2 separate regions of the Homo sapiens genome follow, and region 1 is linked to region 2. The links are contacts of gene promoters, found by promoter capture Hi-C in human tissues and cell types (Jung and others, 2019). All regions are on one chromosome and are shown on one strand. The core of a region is centred on a gene start or on the middle of the fragment in contact, and the rest is flanking DNA. Distances in the headings are between cores, read along the strand shown.

What was found. The method cuts DNA at HindIII sites, captures the fragments that hold promoters and counts their contacts. A contact is called where the count stands out against the background at its distance.
Region 1: a contact is called between a fragment that was not itself captured here and the fragment with the promoter of C9orf72 in region 2, in 1 of the 25 tissues and cell types used here (mesendoderm cells).

Annotation. Positions count from the first base shown.
Region 1 is chr9:28,086,186-28,089,781 of GRCh38, reverse strand. The region is part of intron 6 of LINGO2 (leucine rich repeat and Ig domain containing 2); the gene reads left to right. Among named protein-coding and RNA genes, the nearest start is that of C9orf72, 510 kb to the right of the region's middle. The HindIII fragment of the contact is 5,233 bases long and covers 1-3,596 here.
Region 2 is chr9:27,571,965-27,575,446 of GRCh38, reverse strand. It overlaps C9orf72 (C9orf72-SMCR8 complex subunit), which reads left to right and starts at 1,966. Exons shown (of 11, transcript NM_018325.5): 1 at 1,966-2,016. RefSeq lists enhancers at 1,357-1,884, 2,483-2,572 and a silencer at 1,893-1,972. The HindIII fragment of the contact is 8,764 bases long and covers 1-3,482 here.

The DNA of each region.
Region 1 (3,596 bases), core at 384-2,883, 510 kb before region 2:
CCAGCTCCTGGATTCATTGATTTTTTTGAAGGGCTTTTTGTGTCTCTATTTCCTTCAGTTCTGTTCTGATCTTAGTTATTTCTTGCCTTCTGCTAGCTTTTGAATGTGTTTGCTCTTGCTTCTCTAGTTCTTTTCATTGTGATGTTAGGTTGTCAATTTTAGATCTTTCCTGCTTTCTCTTGTGGGCCTTTAGTGCTATAAATTTCCCTCTACACACTGCTTTAAATGTGTCCCAGAGATTCTGGTATGATGTGTCTTTGTTCTCATTGGTTCAAAAAACATCTTTATTTCTGCCTTCATTTCATTATGCACCCAGTAGTCATTCAGGAGCAGGTTGTTCAGTTTCCATGTAGTTGAGCAGTTTTGAGTGAGTTTCTTAATCCTCAGTTCTAGTTTGATTGCACTGTGGTCTGAGAGACAGTTTGTTATAATTTCTATTCTTTTACATTTGCTAAGATGTACTTTACTTCCAACTGTGTGGTCAATTTTGGAATAAGTGTGATGTGGTGCTGAGAAGAATGTATATTCTGTTGATTTGGGGTGGAGAGTTCTGTAGATGTCTATTAGGTCCACTTGATGCAGAGCTGAGTTCAATTCCTGGATATCCTTGTTAACTTTCTGTCTCGTTGATCTGTCTAATGTTGACAATGGTGTGTTAAAGTCTCCCATTATTATTGTGTGGGAGTCTAAGTCTCTTTGTAGGTCTCTAAGGACTTGCTTTATGAATCTGGGTGCTCCTGCATTGGGTGCATATATATTTAGGATAGTTAGCTCTTCTTGTTGAATTGATCCCTTTACCATTATGTAATGGCCTTCTTTGTCTCTTTTGATCTTTGTTGGTTTAAAGTCTGTTTTATCAGAGACTAGGATTGGAACCCCTTCCTTTTTTTGTTTTCCATTTGCTTGGTAGATCTTCCTCCATCCCTTTATTTTGAGTCTATGTGTGTCTCTGCACATGAGATGGGTCTCCTGAATACAAGCACACTGATGGGTCTTGACTCTTTATCCAGTTTGTCAGTCTGTGTCTTTTAATTGGAGCATTTAGCCCATTTACATTTAAGGTTAATATTGTTATGTGTGAATTTGATCCTATCATTATGATGTTAGCTGGTTATTTTGCTCTTTAGTTGATACAGTTTCTTCATGCTTGGTCTTAATCCCGTGCTAAAGGCTCTATTTCTGTGGTCTTCCATATGTTGCACAATATGTGTTTCTGTCAGTACCCAGAGGACTTAGACCTGGGATATACCTACATTTCATCCACGGATCCCAAGGTAGGGGAGAGGGATGAGGGAAGAAAACCAGAATCAGATGGAATGCAGATTACTATGGTGTTTGCAAAGGAAGATCTTGGTTTTAACATTTTGCTTTTATCAGGGTAGTCTGGCAATGAAGGCCAGAGTCTAAAGGGCATAGCAGTCTTAGCCATGGTCCAAATGTATATACTAGAAGCAGGTCCAATGTGTTGCCTTGTATGTAACTGAACTTCAGGTGCCATCACTTTTTCCATTTATGTACCCATTAGTTGTACTAAACCATTATATGTGTGTGTGTGTGTGTGTGTGTGTGTGTGTGTGTATAATTATATATATATAATCTTATTTCTTCATCTCCTCAAACCCTATGCAGGAGGTATTGTTATCCCAATACTATAGATAAGAAAACAGATGTTCAGATTAATTAAATCTCTTATCCGAAATTAGTTAATGGCAGAGCCACGATTTGAACTCCAAAATCTGTTCCTTTAAATTGCTTCACTGGACATCCAAATAGCATGAACTGTCAAGGAATAGTATGGTTATCAGAACAGATGCCTATTATTCTGTACTGAGTCATTATATTATAGTGATTGGGAATGCTGAAACCAAAGAGTTTCTTTTACTGGTACTAAAGTATCTTAGGTAGCCATGGAGGAAATTGTGGCTATTGAAGACTAGGAGCTATCTCATGGGTTACTCATGTTACAGGACTGGAAATGTGAACACACAAATCTGGAAATATGTACCAATGAAATGCTAATTCCCATAAGATTGTCTCAGGAATTAGGTAAGGGCCACTGGTGTACTTGGCTCAAAGCAGCTGGCTGAGTTGTGAGAGGGGGCATGAAAATGGAAATGCATGTTGAGTATGTGGCATATTCCTGTATCTGGGTGCTGAACACCACACATAGGGATCTATTTCATGATCATTCCAGGAAAAGATTCCCCAGATAGGACCAAGAATGAATGAAGAATGAAAGAATCTCACCCTAAGTCACAGGTAAACTTTCAATCTTAGGGAACTCAAAAGAAAAATAATTTTCTCATGAATATATTTTACTTATATTTCTGCTTAGAGGTATTCGTTTTTACCCTTAAGGGAAATGTTAATTAATAGTGATGATTAGAATGAAATATTGGTAAAACACATATTGTTTTAAAAGTGCTTTTTCTTCCTATACAGTTTATCTCTTGTTACAAAAATGCTGTATAACAAATAACCCCAAAGCAAGTAATTTACAATAAAACCTCATGAGTCTATGGGTCAGCTGGGCACTTCCAACAATCTAGTCTGGGCTCAGTTAATCTCATCTTATCTCTGCTGGAGTATCATATGCATCTGTAGTCAGCTGGCAAGTGGACTAGGAGCTAACTGGTCTGGGATGGCCTCAGCTTACATGACTTGGCTCTCCTGTTTATGCTTTCTTTTCTTCAAAAAGCTAGTCTGGACTTGTCCAAAGGTACAGCAGAGAGTGATTAGAAGCATGCCAGGCCATGTGAAGCCTGGGCTTGAAACTGGCACATTGTCACACAAGTCTAACTCTGATCCAAAGGTTGGAAAAATAGACTCTTGTCATGAAAATAACTTCAAAGTCATATTGTGAGTGCTGTGGATACAGGGAAAGAAAGAATTGGAGCCATTTTTATAATCAATCTAGAATACTTGCTATTTAAGCCTTGCCTGTACTGAAGGAAATGTCAATAAAATTATAGCCTTGAGATGGATGACGTGAAAAATAAAAAGAGTGACTCTGTTAAAGTCTCATAAGTTTGTGGCCAAGTTGGAACTCAAGTTTTTCACTCTCACTCGTCCAGGGATTGCTGCATTGTGTGTGATACCATTTGGGACATGTTTTTTTTTCTTTAAAAATTTGCCATCAAGACCGTTTTCTGACATATATAAATTCAGAGCTTTTAACTTTGAAATTAAGTACGCCCAAATTAGCTTTAATTTTTCTTCCCCTTTCATTAGGCAGGAGAAATGAGATTGGGATCTCCTGAGGTTCAACTTTCACACATGGATATGCCCAGAAATATATTCTTTGTTTCAAATGAGGAAAGCTTATTGCAGGTGTTTGGAAAGGAAAAACTTCATTTAAAGTTAGTTATATTGGCTACTTATCTTGTAAAGATTATATCTCTGTACTTGCGGCTTTGAATGGAGAACAATGAAATATAGGCTTTTCCCATTCTTTCTGGTTTCTGAGTTGTATCATTTTTTAAATCTGAATCAGCGTCATCTTTTCATTTTGAATATAGTGCAGCATTTTTCCATATGTTTTAATTTTGTCAGCTCAGAGACGTGTGGATTTTTTTATAGTTAAAAATGTTGATTTT
Region 2 (3,482 bases), core at 717-3,216:
ATCCAGCCATGCTTCTTGTACAGCCTGCAGAACTGTGAGCCATTAAACTTTTCTTTATAAATTACCCAGTTTCAGTTATTTCTTTATAGCAGTGTAAGAATGGACTAACACAATTATTAACGCTAGTCCTCATGTTGTACATTAAATCTCTAGATGTATTAGACGTAACTGCAACTTTGTACCCTACCCTACAATTTTCTTTCCCCCCAAGCCCCCCAACCAAGGGTCTACTCTGTTTCTATAAATTCAGTTGTTTTTTAATTCCACGTATAAGTGAAGTACAACTCAGTGTAGAAACTTGGTAAATGCTAGCTACTTGTTATAAGCTGTCAGTCAAAATAAAAATACAGAGATGAATCTCTAAATTAAGTGATTTATTTGGGAAGAAAGAATTGCAATTAGGGCATACATGTAGATCAGATGGTCTTCGGTATATCCACACAACAAAGAAAAGGGGGAGGTTTTGTTAAAAAAGAGAAATGTTACATAGTGCTCTTTGAGAAAATTCATTGGCACTATTAAGGATCTGAGGAGCTGGTGAGTTTCAACTGGTGAGTGATGGTGGTAGATAAAATTAGAGCTGCAGCAGGTCATTTTAGCAACTATTAGATAAAACTGGTCTCAGGTCACAACGGGCAGTTGCAGCAGCTGGACTTGGAGAGAATTACACTGTGGGAGCAGTGTCATTTGTCCTAAGTGCTTTTCTACCCCCTACCCCCACTATTTTAGTTGGGTATAAAAAGAATGACCCAATTTGTATGATCAACTTTCACAAAGCATAGAACAGTAGGAAAAGGGTCTGTTTCTGCAGAAGGTGTAGACGTTGAGAGCCATTTTGTGTATTTATTCCTCCCTTTCTTCCTCGGTGAATGATTAAAACGTTCTGTGTGATTTTTAGTGATGAAAAAGATTAAATGCTACTCACTGTAGTAAGTGCCATCTCACACTTGCAGATCAAAAGGCACACAGTTTAAAAAACCTTTGTTTTTTTACACATCTGAGTGGTGTAAATGCTACTCATCTGTAGTAAGTGGAATCTATACACCTGCAGACCAAAAGACGCAAGGTTTCAAAAATCTTTGTGTTTTTTACACATCAAACAGAATGGTACGTTTTTCAAAAGTTAAAAAAAAACAACTCATCCACATATTGCAACTAGCAAAAATGACATTCCCCAGTGTGAAAATCATGCTTGAGAGAATTCTTACATGTAAAGGCAAAATTGCGATGACTTTGCAGGGGACCGTGGGATTCCCGCCCGCAGTGCCGGAGCTGTCCCCTACCAGGGTTTGCAGTGGAGTTTTGAATGCACTTAACAGTGTCTTACGGTAAAAACAAAATTTCATCCACCAATTATGTGTTGAGCGCCCACTGCCTACCAAGCACAAACAAAACCATTCAAAACCACGAAATCGTCTTCACTTTCTCCAGATCCAGCAGCCTCCCCTATTAAGGTTCGCACACGCTATTGCGCCAACGCTCCTCCAGAGCGGGTCTTAAGATAAAAGAACAGGACAAGTTGCCCCGCCCCATTTCGCTAGCCTCGTGAGAAAACGTCATCGCACATAGAAAACAGACAGACGTAACCTACGGTGTCCCGCTAGGAAAGAGAGGTGCGTCAAACAGCGACAAGTTCCGCCCACGTAAAAGATGACGCTTGGTGTGTCAGCCGTCCCTGCTGCCCGGTTGCTTCTCTTTTGGGGGCGGGGTCTAGCAAGAGCAGGTGTGGGTTTAGGAGGTGTGTGTTTTTGTTTTTCCCACCCTCTCTCCCCACTACTTGCTCTCACAGTACTCGCTGAGGGTGAACAAGAAAAGACCTGATAAAGATTAACCAGAAGAAAACAAGGAGGGAAACAACCGCAGCCTGTAGCAAGCTCTGGAACTCAGGAGTCGCGCGCTAGGGGCCGGGGCCGGGGCCGGGGCGTGGTCGGGGCGGGCCCGGGGGCGGGCCCGGGGCGGGGCTGCGGTTGCGGTGCCTGCGCCCGCGGCGGCGGAGGCGCAGGCGGTGGCGAGTGGGTGAGTGAGGAGGCGGCATCCTGGCGGGTGGCTGTTTGGGGTTCGGCTGCCGGGAAGAGGCGCGGGTAGAAGCGGGGGCTCTCCTCAGAGCTCGACGCATTTTTACTTTCCCTCTCATTTCTCTGACCGAAGCTGGGTGTCGGGCTTTCGCCTCTAGCGACTGGTGGAATTGCCTGCATCCGGGCCCCGGGCTTCCCGGCGGCGGCGGCGGCGGCGGCGGCGCAGGGACAAGGGATGGGGATCTGGCCTCTTCCTTGCTTTCCCGCCCTCAGTACCCGAGCTGTCTCCTTCCCGGGGACCCGCTGGGAGCGCTGCCGCTGCGGGCTCGAGAAAAGGGAGCCTCGGGTACTGAGAGGCCTCGCCTGGGGGAAGGCCGGAGGGTGGGCGGCGCGCGGCTTCTGCGGACCAAGTCGGGGTTCGCTAGGAACCCGAGACGGTCCCTGCCGGCGAGGAGATCATGCGGGATGAGATGGGGGTGTGGAGACGCCTGCACAATTTCAGCCCAAGCTTCTAGAGAGTGGTGATGACTTGCATATGAGGGCAGCAATGCAAGTCGGTGTGCTCCCCATTCTGTGGGACATGACCTGGTTGCTTCACAGCTCCGAGATGACACAGACTTGCTTAAAGGAAGTGACTATTGTGACTTGGGCATCACTTGACTGATGGTAATCAGTTGTCTAAAGAAGTGCACAGATTACATGTCCGTGTGCTCATTGGGTCTATCTGGCCGCGTTGAACACCACCAGGCTTTGTATTCAGAAACAGGAGGGAGGTCCTGCACTTTCCCAGGAGGGGTGGCCCTTTCAGATGCAATCGAGATTGTTAGGCTCTGGGAGAGTAGTTGCCTGGTTGTGGCAGTTGGTAAATTTCTATTCAAACAGTTGCCATGCACCAGTTGTTCACAACAAGGGTACGTAATCTGTCTGGCATTACTTCTACTTTTGTACAAAGGATCAAAAAAAAAAAAGATACTGTTAAGATATGATTTTTCTCAGACTTTGGGAAACTTTTAACATAATCTGTGAATATCACAGAAACAAGACTATCATATAGGGGATATTAATAACCTGGAGTCAGAATACTTGAAATACGGTGTCATTTGACACGGGCATTGTTGTCACCACCTCTGCCAAGGCCTGCCACTTTAGGAAAACCCTGAATCAGTTGGAAACTGCTACATGCTGATAGTACATCTGAAACAAGAACGAGAGTAATTACCACATTCCAGATTGTTCACTAAGCCAGCATTTACCTGCTCCAGGAAAAAATTACAAGCACCTTATGAAGTTGATAAAATATTTTGTTTGGCTATGTTGGCACTCCACAATTTGCTTTCAGAGAAACAAAGTAAACCAAGGAGGACTTCTGTTTTTCAAGTCTGCCCTCGGGTTCTATTCTACGTTAATTAGATAGTTCCCAGGAGGACTAGGTTAGCCTACCTATTGTCTGAGAAACTTGGAACTGTG